Linked DNA regions of Homo sapiens: region 1 is linked to region 2. Evidence: promoter capture Hi-C in 16 types of primary human blood cells and fetal thymus (Javierre and others, 2016). All regions are on one chromosome and are shown on one strand. The core of a region is centred on a gene start or on the middle of the fragment in contact, and the rest is flanking DNA. Distances in the headings are between cores, read along the strand shown. Region 1 overlaps SDK2 (sidekick cell adhesion molecule 2). Region 2 holds the start of CPSF4L (cleavage and polyadenylation specific factor 4 like).

Region 1 (6,317 bases), core at 1,928-4,427, 100 kb before region 2:
CTCCCAGAAGCCCCGTGGACAGGCAGGGCAGGCAGCACCCTCATCTCACGATGAGCCGGGGTCACCCAGGAAGTTATACTACTTGTCCAGGGTTGCCCAGCTGGTCACTGGGGCAGCAGAGGCTGGAACCCAGGATTTCTGAGAGAACCAAGTGTTCTGTCCTCGTGGACTGGAATACTGGCCTTTTGCCCCGGCCTCCCTTGAGCATCTTGTTCAACCTGCTGCTTCCTATGCTGTCAGTGACATGTGGCTTTTAAAGAGCTGCAGAGGGCACACCTGTGGCATCAGTTCCTCATTATGACCCTCTCTGGGGACAAGCCCTGGCTCCAGGGAACCCTTTCCCTCCACTACCCCCAGGGTCTGACGGTGGCCAGAATGAGCGTGAGCTGCTGAATATACAAGTCTGTCCGTCCGCCTCCTGTCCCGGCCACTCTTTTGTCAGTGCCATCTGCCAGATGCGAACCCCAGGGAACCCGAGGCTTCCGTCACTGCGGCAGCAGGACAACATGTTCTGTCCCACGTCCCTGTAGCACAGGGGAGGCAGGAAGGGCCCCCTGAGCTCACCTCCCTCCTTCAAAGACACTCGCTGACTCTGCCTCCTGGGGCTGGAGCCGGAAGCAGGTCCGGATTAGCTCCAGCGTGGTGGGGAGGCAGCGCCGGACAATAATAGCCTGGTCATCCTCCCTGGGCCAGCTGGGGATGCCGCAGATTGGGACGCTTCCTGCCCTTCCTCTGTCCTCCCCATCAGGGGAGCCCCCACCCCCATGATTTTGGGGTTGCCACAGGGTTCTTGGTCCGAGAAAACATTTCTCCCAGAGGGTCTGACTGTCCTTGGCGTGGCTCCCCCTGACTGCGTGGGGCCTCTGTGACAAGCCCTGGAGCCCCAGGAGGAGAGGAAGGCCATCTCCGTCTGCTGTGGTTCTGGTGTCTTCTTTGTTTAGCGCCTACCGAATATTCTGAGGCCCAGACACCCCCACCTTCTCCACGAAAGCCAAAAGACGAACCCCGCAAAGCCAGGAAATGGCCTTGCCCCACGATGACCCCGGGGGTGTGACAGCTTGTCCCACACTCATAGCCCGGGCTCAGAGCCACTTAGCAGGGAGAAGCCTGAATTCTGCAACTTGAGGGAAAAATCGAGTTCTCTTTCTTCCCAGTTCTTAGGACTCTGATACTGGAAAGTTGAGAGAGGAGAGGAAGGGGGCCTGATGGCCTCCAGTGACCCCTCCTGCCCGCCCTTTCTGCCGAGCCCCACGCTCTTGTTCCTCCCGGGCTCAGACCCAATACTCCCGCTAGCTCCTTGGAGCTGAACCCGAGGCTTTGAACTTCCACAGAAGAAGGAAACAAAAACCCTTTGCTGTCTCCCGCAGCCCCCAGCGCTCCCAGCTCGGTCAAGTTCAGTGAGCTGACCACAACCTCAGTGAATGTGTCCTGGGAAGCCCCGCAGTTCCCCAATGGCATCCTGGAGGGCTACAGGCTGGTGTACGAGCCCTGCAGCCCCGTGGATGGTGAGTGGACCCCCCAGCACAGCTCCCCAGCCCCCCACTTTGCAAAAGCTCGCTCTCATCTCAGCGCCCATCACAGCCACTACACATGAGTGAGATTCGGTGAGAGTCTCCCCATCTTATAAACACGGAAACTGAGTCCCAGACAAGGGAAAGTGCATTTCCAAGGTAAAACAACAGCAAGTTGAGGGCAGAGTTGGAAGAGAGATCCAGGTCTCCTAACTTCCAGGCAGAGAATCGTTAAATATATTCTTCCCCCTTTGGTCAACGGAAACAGGGAGGAAAGGAAGGGAAACCTGAGTGGACAGGGCTCTGTTGAGACCATAAAGAAGGGGGGCAGCCAAGGACGGTGGCTCACGCCTGTAATGACAGCACTTTGGGAGGCTGAGGCGGGTGGATCACCTGAGGTCAGGAGTTCCAAGACCAGCCTGGCCAACATGGTGAAACCCCGTCTCTACTGAAAATACAAAAATTAGCCGGGTGTGGTGGTGGGTACCTGTAGTCTCAGCTACTCGGGAAGCTGAGGCAGGAGAATCGCTTGAACCCGGCAGGCAGAGGTTGCAGTAAGCCGGGATCACGCCACTGCACTCCAGCCTGGGCGACAGAGCTAGATTCCATCTCAAAAGGAAAAAAGAAAAGAAAAAGAAGAGGGGAGCCCCTGAGGGTCCTACTTTGCCCTTTCCCAAACCTTAGGGTTCTCAGCTTTACTGTGGGTTAGTCCTTCTTTAGCTTTGGTGGGAGTCAGGAACCCCTTGGAGAATCTGATGAGAATCTGACCAAAGCTTCAGAGCCTCTCCCCAGGAAGATACACAAGACCAAGGAGGTCCCTGCACCCCCCACTGCTATCTGCGGACCCCAGATCAAGAGCCCTGCTCTGCAAATGACCTCGCTCTTGTCCTTAACCCTGTTCATCTGACTGGTCTTCTGACCCCTTCCTCCGGGCCCCAGCTGGGAACCTGCCCATTTCTGGGCTCCTAGGCTGGGCTGCGCAGCCCCTGACAATGGGCATCTGGTACCTGCCAGCTTTCTACCCCTGGTAACATGCCAAGAAATCCCTGCCATTTTGTTATGAACAACCATCCTATGAGGATGGGATTTAGGCAGGAAGGAAACTGCGTTCCTCACTGCCTGGGACTAGTCCCAGCCAGGTGCTGGGGGTGTGGCTGACCTCTGGAGCCACCCCTCTCACTCTCACCCCCTCCAATCACGGAGCCTGGCAAGAACAAGGGGCAGAGACCTGGGAACATCGTTGTGACCAGCAGTTCTCGGTGAGCCTAGGGAACAATGGCCCTCAGTCTTCCCTGCTACCACCTGGGTGCCAGCAGCTCGTTCTGCAAAGGGGAGCTGTGTGTTAGAACACCAGGGGGGAGCCAGGCCCCAGCAGGAGATCCAGTCAGGTGCAGGGCCGGAGTGGGGCAGAGGACAGCAGTCCCCGAGACAAGGTACAGGGGGCCAGCACAAGCCCTCTTCACAGGGGCCTCAACCTGGCCTGTCCAGGACCCTCTCAACTTGAGGATGTGAGCTCTTTGCCTTCCAATTCCACAGTCTGGTGGGATCTGGACTGTGTGGCTCAACTCCACACCCCTACACATTCCCATCTTCCCATAATAGTTCAGTTAATAAGTACAGCAAGACAAGGCCCCGCCTGGACAGCCCAGTGTCCACACCCCAGTTCATCCTGGGTTCAGGTCAATAGCAAACCAGCCTCACAAAAGCCCAGCAGCCCCCACTGTCCTGTAGGGAAAACCAAGGTCCAGGCAGATGAGGGCTTTGTTCAGAATTGTCAAGGAGCAGGTAGCCAGAGTCCCTGTTCCTGGTCCCAGGGTCATTTCATTCTTTCAGGAAGCCCCTCTGAGCCTACATTGTTCCATCATTTAGTAATCCACTTAGCGGCCGGGTGCAGTGGCTCACACCTGCAATCCCAGCACTTCGGGAGGCCGAGGCGGTGGATCACCTGAGTTCAGGAGTTCGAGACCAGCCTGACCAACGTGGCAAAATCCTGTCTCTACTAAAAATACAAAATTAGCTGGGTGTGGTAGTGGACGCCTACTCGGGAGGCTGAGGCAGGAGAATCGCTTGAACCCAGGAGGCGGAGGTTTCAGTGAGCTGAGATCGCGCCATTGCACTCCAGCCTGGGCAACAATAGTGAAAATCCACCTCAAAACGATAATATTAGTAATCCACTTAGTCAATAAATAGGTCAGGCACCTACATGCTCTGTTATTTTACTTAAAGCTCATAGCATCCCTGCCTAAGATGCTGTGGACACCCTCACTCGGCAGAACAAACTGAAGCCAAGTTAAGGGACATGCCGGGGCCGGCGCCATCACTGGGTCTGAGCCCAGCCTATTGGCTGCAAGGCCTGTCTTTCACTGGTGACTGGCGTGCTCGATGGACATGGGAAATGACACTAACCCCGGCTCCCAGGGAGGCTGGCAGTCAGGAGTATTTGGATTCGCGAAGCACAGAGTGCAAACCCCCACCTCCTGAAAGCTGGCTCAAGCGTCCCCTCTAGTTGCTGTGATTTGGGGTGCTGAGGCATCCTCACTTTTGCCCTAAAAAGCTTGGTGGACTGGGCATAGTGGTTCATGCCTATAATCCCAGCACTTTGAGAGGCCAAGGTGGGAGGATCACTTGAGGCCAGGAGTTCGCGACCAGCCTGGGCAACATAATGAGACCCTGTCTCTACAAAAATTTAAAAATTAGCCAGGCATGATGGTGCACACCTACAGTCTTAGCTACTTGGAAGGCTGAAAGTGGCAGGACGGCTTGAACCCAGGAGGTCGAGGCTACAGTGAGCCATGATTGTGCCTGAGCAACAGAGCAAGACCTTGTCTTAAAAAAAAAAAAAAAATTGTGGCAGATATAGGTGCTGGAGGGCCATGTGAGCTCCTGGCTGAACCCCAGAGGTGGAGCTGGAGTGGGGCTCAGGTGGAGGACCTGGTCAAAAGTGTGTCCCCGCAACTCTGGGCTTTTGGTATTTTTATGGAAGCACTTCCTGAAAAAGGATATAATTCTAGTCCCATGGGATGCTGCATAAGGGAATAGCAATGGAGCCGAAACATATTTGGGGTGCAGAGGTTACATTAAACAGGATGGCGAGTGTTCTCTTTTCTGTAGATGCTGATGATGGACCCTGTGGCTACTCAGTAGACACAGACAGTAGTAGCTTTTCCCAAACATACTGAACCATGGAGCCGTTCTCCCTGAGAACAGCAGGCAGGACCGTGCTGTGAGAAACACAGCATGGGCAATGTGGTTGTGTGGGCTGGGGGTGCATTTCAGCCTGACCTCAAGGAGTGAGGCCCCTACCCAGGGTCCCGGGGCCCAGGCCACGGCCGCTTCCCCTTCCCCATGGCCTCCAGTGCCCTCGGTGGGCCCTGTGCCCAGTCCCCACTTGCTGTGCCTCCCCCAGGAGTCAGCAAGATCGTGACCGTGGACGTGAAGGGGAACAGCCCCCTGTGGCTGAAGGTGAAGGACCTGGCGGAGGGGGTGACCTACAGGTTCCGCATCAGAGCCAAGACCTTCACCTACGGGCCGGAGATCGAAGCCAACGTCACCACGGGCCCCGGAGAAGGTAGGAGAGCAACGGACCAGGCATGTCTTCCACACGGCGGTTCAGCGTCCCCAGTCAGAAGGGGCCCCCGGTGTCAAGAGCTGTGCTGGACCCTGGAAACAGAGTGGAGGACAGAGCTCACTCTTTCCCCTGGTGCCCAGTGACCCCTCCCCCCGCTCCCTCCTCCCGGGCTCCACGCTTTGATTAATGTGTCCTCAGGTTCCTCAAGCCACAAACCCTGGAGCAGCGCCCCCTCCTCTCCCACTTAGGCCCAGCCCACAGGCCTGGCCTGGCCACTGCGCCTGCTTCGTTCTTTCTCTCCCTGCTAATTGCATGGCCTCCTTTACTTCCGTCCTGGAAGGATGCAGCCTGGCAGGTGCCCCTGCCTTTCGCCCAGCCAGAGCCATCTTCCCACGCCCCTGAACCACCCCTACCCTCCAGGCAGCGGTTCTCAGAGCAGGGCGCACTAAAATGCACGTTCCCAGGGTGGATGCTCCGAGGGGTTGATTTCCTGGGGCTGAGGTGGGACCTGGCAGTCTGCACTTAGACAAAAGCCCCTGGAGGCCGTGACAAAGTGGCACCTTGAGAAACACCTGATGGAGCAGGTCACCTATTCACAGCCAGGGCCCTGCCTCCCCCACCTCACCACCCACCCCCTCCGCAGAACGCCCTTTTGTGTGTAACTGCCCGCCCCTCACCCCAGGAAGTCTTCCTTAATCTCCTGTATTGTTTCTGTTGTTGTTGTTTGGGCTTTTTTTTTTTTTTTCTGGAGACAGAGTCTCGCTCTGTCATCCAGGCTGGAGTGCAGTGGTGCAATCTCAGTTCACTGCAACCTCCACCTCCCGGGTTCAAGCAATTCTCAAGCTTCAGCCTCCCAAGTAGCTGGGATTACAGGTGATTTCTACCACGACCAGCTAATTTTTGTATTTTTAGTAGAGACAGGGTTTGGCCAGGCTGGTCTCCAACTCCTGACCTCAAGTGATCCACCTGCTGCAGTCTCCCAAAGTGCTGGGATTACAGGCATGAGCCACTGTGCCCAATCGCCTCCTTTAAATGTCCTCTTCACCTCCCTTCCCCTCCCACCCCTCATCCCCCCAGGCATTTGCCATGGTCAAGGTTTAGCCCTCCAAAGTCCCTGTTACTGGTCAGTGTAGAATGTCCTGTCCTGAACACAAAAGTCACCTCCCAGACCACTCTGCTGCCTCCCTCCCTAAGAAGGGGTACAGCCCATCCTGGACTTCCCCTAAAATCCCATCTCC
Region 2 (7,104 bases), core at 181-2,680:
CAAGAGACCTAGATGTGAACCCCATCCATAGCGCCTCCCAAACCATGTGGTCTTGGCCTCCCTGGGCTTTGATTCCCTCATCAGTCCTGCCTGCGCTGCCAGGCTTCTGTGAGCCTTTAATGAGCCTGTGTTGACAGATGAATGCATTCTTGGGACTACTAATCAACGCATACAACTAAGGCCAAGAGAAGCCAGGGTTTCTACCCCAGGGACCCCCTTGGCCCCACCCTCTAGCCCTGGAGCTGGGTCCCTCTGCCTCTCCCAGGATGCAGTCAGAGGCCTGAGCTTCTGGAAACTCTTGGATCTCGTCCCTGCTCCTCCCAGTCCCACCTCGGCTCCAGGTGTCTATCTCTCCAGCTATTTTCTTTTCTGATCTGGAGTTCAAAAGAACAGATCTAGGAGCAACAGCCACGGGGAACAACAGCCAGCAGGCTAGTTCATGTTGGCCCAGCTGAGAGCCTGCGGGGCTGCCCACCTCTCCCTGCTGGGTTTGGGCACCCAGAAAGGAGGGCGTATGGGTTCTGGTTCTATGGGCATTAAAAGCCAATGTGACTGAGAACAGCAGCTCTAGTTAGAGGCAAGGCCAGTTTGGGGCCAGAGCAGGGGGAGGGGGAACCTGGTCTAATTAGAGCCCTAACATGCTCCTTTGAAAGCATTGTCAGATGTCCCCAGCCCTGCAGGCAGGGGTGGTGTAATAATAATAAAACAACATTTGCATAGAGATTTCATTTATAAAGCACTTTCTCAGGGGTGGGGTGGCACTGGGTGGCCCTGTGGAATCCTGGCTGGGAGGCCGCCCTGGCCTTGGTCGGTTCCGCCCTCCCGCCAAGCTGGCGATTGTGTGCGAGGTAAACAAAGCGCCATTCATCCAACTGTTTCAGTTCCTCTCCTCTTCATTCCTTTTTCCCTGTCTCCCACGAAGAGCTCACTCGGGGCTTGTCACTCAGGCCAGAAAAGGGGTGTCAGGGGCCCCAGAGGGAGACCCCTTCCCTCATGGGAAGAAGCGGGGAGGTGGGACGGCTCCCTCCCTCTGCAAACCCCCACCACCCCCAGCTCTGGCAGAATAACAGCCTTGCTGCGGTTGGTTTGTGCAACTCTTTGCTAACCTGTGGCTGTGTCTTCATGGACAAAGTATGAGCCCAGGTTTGGTAATGTCTGTGTGCACGCCACGTTTGTGTTCGGTAACATGCAAAGATAAGCAGTTTGTGGGGCTCTGCGAATCCCTCCCTATCCGAGTGAGCCTTGTGTACACAGTGTGGGGGTGAGGGGCCCTGGGGTGTCTGCCCCTGCACTGGGTGGGCCGGGTGAGGCAGCTGGGCCCTGCTCCTGTACAGCCCAGGCTGGAGCGTCCCCTGCAGTCACCTGGCCACTGGCACCCTGGGGTGAAGGGGGAGGCATTGGGCGCTGGCCCCTTAAGGGCCTCTGATGAGCTATATTGGGCCCACCTGCCTGGGTTCCAGCAGCTTCCGCAGCCCCAGCAGGAGACGGAAGATGCAAGAGGTCATTGCGGGGCTAGAGCGGTTCACCTTTGCCTTCGAGAAGGATGTCGAGATGCAGAAGGGCACTGGGCTCCTGCCTTTCCAGGGCATGGACAGTGAGTGAGGGTGGGGCCACTTTCCCTCCCCTACCTTCTCTGTTTTTTTTTCTTTGAGACGGAGTCTCGCTCTGTAGCCCAGGCTGGAGTGTAGTGGCACAATCTCGGCTCATTGCAAGCTCTGCCTCCTGGGTTCACGCCATTCTCCTGCCTCAGCCTCCCGAGGAGCTGGGACTACAGGCGCCCGCCACCACGCCCAGCTGATTTTTTGTATTTTTAGTAGAGACCGGGTTTCACCATGTTAGCCAGGATGGTCTCAATCTCCTGACCTCGTGATCCGCCCGCCTTGGCCTCCCAAAGTGCTGGGATTACAGGCATGAGCCACCACGCCCAGCCTCCCTCCCCCTTCCTTCTCTACAGGCCTCTCTGCTCAACTCCCTGATGCGACCGCCCCTTCTCTGTCTCTCTCTTCTGTGGCTTCGGGGCAACCCATTTTCCAGACTGAGAAAGAGAGGCACAGAGAGACGGTGAATTGAGAGAAGCCACACTGGCCTCCCGAGCTCCTGGGCCAGGCTTGAGCCCCTCGAGCTCCTCTGTTTCAGAGTTGGGGGGTTAAGGGTTGAGGTCTGCTGGCTGGCTCTGCAGGTTAACCTCTACAGGGCCCAGATTTGGGATCCCATAGGCCAGAGCCTGGGGGAGGTCTAGGTGGGACATGCCGATGGAGGTGGAGGCTTCCGGAACAGCTGCAGCCTCTGGGGAAGCTACCTTCTCCGTTCCCTCTTCTCCTTCCAGAGTCGGCCTCAGCTGTGTGCAACTTCTTCACTAAAGGGCTCTGTGAGAAAGGTGAGTTAGCAGACAGGCCTGGGCCCCAAGCTGGGTGAGTGTAGGGTCTGTCTGAGCTACACCCAGCAGGGGCTCTGCCTGGCCTGGGATAGGGTGTCGAATTTGCACCTGGGGAGGGAAAATTGGGATGGAACGGAATTTTATTTTTATTTTATTTATTTATTTTTAGATGGAATCTCGCTCTGTTGCCCAGGCTAGAGTGATCTGGCGTGATCTCAACTCACTGCAACCTCTGCCTCCTGGGTTCAAGCGATTCTCCTTCCTCAGCCTCCCGAGTAACTGGAACTACAGGTGCATGCCACCAAGCCCGGCTAATTTTTGCATTTTTAGTAGAGATGGAGTTTTGTCATGTTGGCCAGGCGGGTCTCAAACTCCTCACCTCAGGTGATCCACCTGCCTGGGCCTCCCAAAGTGCTGGGATTACAGGCGTGAGCCACCATGCCCGGCCATGGAGCAGAATTTTAGACTTACAGGTAGACAAAGGATAAGTGGTTGGATCCACCGAGCAGCCTGCCCCTCCCCTAAGATTTTCCCGCCTCAGCAGCAGTCTTCATAGTTTGCAGTTCGCATCAGGGTAACCAGGCTGCCTGGAAAGGGGTATTTTTTTCTTTCTGCCTTGCTGGGATGGGCGTGTGTCTGAGCTTTGGCCTGTGCATTCCCAGGAGGCTCCAGCTTCTTAATGTTTTTCTTGATTTCCTCCCAGCTAGAAGAGAGGCATCCTTCTCCCCCAGTCCCCTGCTCTGACTCAGTTTGTAAACTGGTCAATTGTCTCATCCATTCCCTATGCCCTGAGGTAGCACCTGCCACCATCTTTGAAATGCTATCAAAAAGCATCCTCCACTTCTCTCCTGCCCTGACTTTGGGTCAATACTGTCTTCCTAGGCCCCTCTCCCCAAATGCAGCCATTCTGGGAAGGCCTGATTCAAATATAAGAGTTTTCAACTTTTCTTCTGGCTCATGGCTCATGTAGAGGCTCTTTCAACAGAAATATACAATTGCCAAAAAAAACTGGCTTCCAGTTTTAGGGTTTCCCTGTCTTCCTCCCGCTTGCCTATACATTTAGGTTAAGAAATCTCACTGGTGTGAGAGTTTAGGACATGTTTTCTGATCCAAATGAGTCTGTCCCTGGAAGCTGGGGGGCTGGAGGGGACCAGGAAAGGAGGACCTGGGGCCATGTTCGCCCACCTGCCTTGTTTGTCTTGGGGCCAGCCCTAGACCATACAGGGAGAAGGGAAATGGGATCACTGGTCGCCCAAGGCCTTGTGCACCCAGGACCCTGCAGGCTCAATGTGGACTGAGTGGCATCTCCTCAGCTCAGCCCAACCAGTCCCTAGAGCAGTGGTTCCTAGCAACACCCTTCTGCAAAGAAAGAAAGCTATTATGGTGGAAGGTCAGAACCAAGCAAGTCAATAGCCAGGGGTGGAGGTTAGGGGTATTTAAAAAGAGCACCTTGGCCGGGGGAGTAGGCTCACACTTGTAATTCCAGCACTTTGAGAGGCAGAGGCTGGAGAATCGCTCAAGACCAGCCTGGGCAACATAGCGAGACCCCATCTCTACAAAACATAATTTTTTTTTTTTAAAAAAGGAAAAATGGAAAGAACACCTCCCCTAGCCCCCAAATTATGTCAGAGAACTGGCCAGGCATGAGGCTGGACCTGCTTAGAAACTCAGGAACTGCCAGCCTGGATGACATGGCAAAGCCCTGTCTCTACAAAAAATAAAAAAATTAGCTCAGTGTGGTGGTGCATGCCTGTAGTCCCAGCTACTCGGGAGGCTGAGATGGGAGAACTCCTGAGTCTAGGAGGTTGAGGCTACAGTAAGCCATGACTTTGCCATTGCACTCCAGCCTGGGCAACAGACTAAGATCCTGTCTCAAATAAATAAATAAATTAAAGAAACTTAGGAACTGGGTGTCCTTCCTGCTAATAGCAAGGCAGACTTGAGTGAAGATGATAAAGCAGTTAAATGTAACATTTCCATGGAATATTCCTTATAAATCATTACAAAGTTGGCTCTTCTGTCACCCTGTTAGGTCTCTGGAATCGGGAAGCATAACATTTGATGTTTTTAAAGATGGGAATTCAACACACCCTTACTGAGCACTTACTATGTGCCAGGGGCTGGGCTGGGTGTGGGGATTCTGGGCTGGAAAGCCTGGCCCCGCTCCCTGGCAGGACGAGAGGGGGTGTTAGGCACTCTGGGAATGAAAAGGAGGCAGCTGTTCTGAGCCCAGGTACTTCCCTGGAGAAGGGCATGGCACTCCAGGCAGATGGGAAGGATGGGCAAAGGTGTGGTAGTGGGAACAGCTGTGCTTTAAGAAGAGCTTGCCCTGGCCAGTCACGGTGGCTCAAGCCTGTAATCCCAGCACTTTGGGAGGCTGAGGCGGATGGATCACCTGAGATCAGGAGTTCGAGACCAGCCTGGCCAACATGGTGAAACCCCGTCTCTACTAAAAATAAAAAAAATAGCCGGGTGTAGTTGCAGGTGTAATCCCAGCTACTTGGGAGGCTGAGGCAGGAGGATCACTTGAACCTGGGAGGTGGAGGTTGCAGTGAGCTGAGACCGTGCCATTGCTCTCTAGCATGGGCAACAGAGCGAGACGCCATCTCAAAAACAAGAGCTTGGCTGGGCGCGGTGGCTCACGCCTGTAATCCCAGCACTTTGGGAGGCCGAGGTGGGCAGATCACAAGGTCAGGAGATCGAGACCATCCTGGCTAACACGGTGAAACCCTGTCTCTACTAAAAAATACAAAAAATTAGCAGGGCGTGGTGGCTGGCGCCTGTAGTCCCAGCTACTCAGGAAATGGAGGCAGGAGAATGGCGTGAACCCAGGAGGCGGAGCTTGCAGTGAGCCAAGATCGCGCCGCTGCACTCCAACCTGGGCGACAGAGCGAGATTCTGTCTCAAAAAAAAAAAAAAAGCTCTCCCTTCATGCTGCCTCGGCTCCCAGTTCCAGCCCCTACAGGGTCCAGGTGAAGGGATAAGGGGACAGCCGCTGGGGACTGAGTCAGGTACCCTCCTGGGGAATCCCCTGGAGGGCTGAGCTGGGCCCAGGCTGTGGATGAGGGGCCTCCCAGCCAGGTGCTCTGGCATCTCCAGGGAAACTCTGCCCCTTCCGACATGACCGAGGGGAGAAGATGGTGGTATGCAAGCACTGGCTCCGGGGGCTCTGCAAGAAGGGTGATCACTGCAAGTTCCTGCACCAGTATGACCTCACCAGGATGCCTGAGTGCTACTTCTACTCCAAGTTTGGTAAGGCCTCTTCCTGGCTCGGTGCCTCACCCTGGAGGGTGGCAGTGTGGGCTGTGAGATGGGAAGGTTTCTAGAGGAGCGGGCACGCAGAGGAGGCTGGACATGTCCCTGGAGGCCAGAGAGACCTGTCTGAGTCTCAGGTGTCTGTTCTCCAAACCCCTAGACAAGCAGAAGTGCACCCTGAAGTCCCTGCCCTTTACTGCCCCCTGGATCAAGGTGCATACCAGATACCCCCAAAAGGGAAGAAGGGATTGTTTCTCTCCCCATTCTTGGTTCATCACACACCCAGCCTGACTATATTGAAATGTCTCAAATGAGCCATCTCTCAGGCCCCGGCTAGAACTTCTCGAATATCAGGCCTTCAGAGCCACATTCACGATGCCTGCTGTACCCTCAAAGCCCCAGCACCACTGTCTGCTCTTCCAACGGTCTTGCTATTTTAACTCTTACTTTAGAAGAAACTTTGCATTGTTTCCATAAACGGAGAACTAGCATCACTTGTTGGAAATCAAAGGTCATTGTAAACATAAATCCATGAGGTTCAGAGGTCTAGCACCTAAAGTCATCTTGTGCGGTCAAGCCTGGACCAGCATCTTACCTCCCTCTGGCTTCAAGGCATCCTTTGTCCTTTTATTTATTTTTATATATTTTTTTGAGACAGCGTCTTGCTCTGTCCCCCAGGCTGGAGTGCAGTGGCGTGATCTTGACTCACTGCAATCTCCACCTCCCGGGTTCAAGCCATTCTCCTGCCTCAGCCTCCTGAGTAGCTGGGATTACAGGTACCCACCAACATGCCCGGCTAATTTTTATATTTTTAGTAGAGACGGGGTTTTGCCACGTTGGCCAGGCTGGTCTTGAACTCCTGACCTCAGGTGATCCACCTGCCTTGGCCTCCCTAAGTGCTGGGATTATTGGTGTGAGCTGCGGTGCCCGGCCTCCTTTGTCCTTTTAATCAAGGGACTGTTTATGGGGCAGCTGCAGCCACTTTCCCGCTTACTTAAGAAAGGAATTTGTAAATGTGCTTCAGGTCTCACCCTTCACAATACGATTCTACAGCTCAGAGCTTTTCGGAGCTGGAAGGAGCCTTACGGATTATCTAGTCCAGTGGTTTTCCAACTGTATTCCATAAAGAGTGACCTACAAAGAGAGAGCTGGCAGAATCCCCTGGATGCCCCTGACTCAGGAGGCTTGGCTTCCAAATGTGGCTGCAGCCAGCTTCAGGGCCCCCCAAGCGGCTGCTCCTCATTAGTGCCAATGGGAGGGTCCTGGGTACCTGAGAAGGAGGCAAAGCATTGCCTAGGCCAGTCAGAGCCCCACCCAGGCTAATATTCCATTTCCTGCCTGCTCCTGGGAGGCAAAGGCATGGCAGTTCCTGAGAGCTGCCCCCATGTCTCCCCTGAAAGGACAATGTTTATCCAAGTTCCCCTTGGTCACTGCCTAGCATTCTGTGACTTTAGTAATAAAATGCCACCTAC

The links. Contacts are between HindIII fragments. The CHiCAGO score rates a contact against its expected background, and 5 or more counts as called.
Region 1: a fragment that was not itself captured here is called in contact with the fragment with the promoter of CPSF4L in region 2 in 6 of 17 cell types (monocytes, neutrophils, M1 macrophages and 3 more); the score reaches 10.4 in monocytes.

The regions. Positions count from the first base shown.
Region 1 is chr17:73,360,446-73,366,762 of GRCh38, reverse strand. SDK2 (sidekick cell adhesion molecule 2) reads left to right here. Exons shown (of 45, transcript NM_001144952.2): 38 at 1,368-1,505; 39 at 4,918-5,079. Among named protein-coding and RNA genes, the nearest start is that of CDC42EP4, 52 kb to the right of the region's middle. RefSeq lists enhancers at 1,274-1,776, 2,241-3,216, 5,034-5,705. The HindIII fragment of the contact is 1,781 bases long and covers 2,287-4,067 here.
Region 2 is chr17:73,256,206-73,263,309 of GRCh38, reverse strand. CPSF4L (cleavage and polyadenylation specific factor 4 like) reads left to right here and starts at 1,430. Exons shown (of 6, transcript NM_001129885.1): 1 at 1,430-1,594; 2 at 2,327-2,377; 3 at 5,477-5,629. The coding sequence starts at 1,492. The HindIII fragment of the contact is 15,055 bases long and covers 1-7,104 here.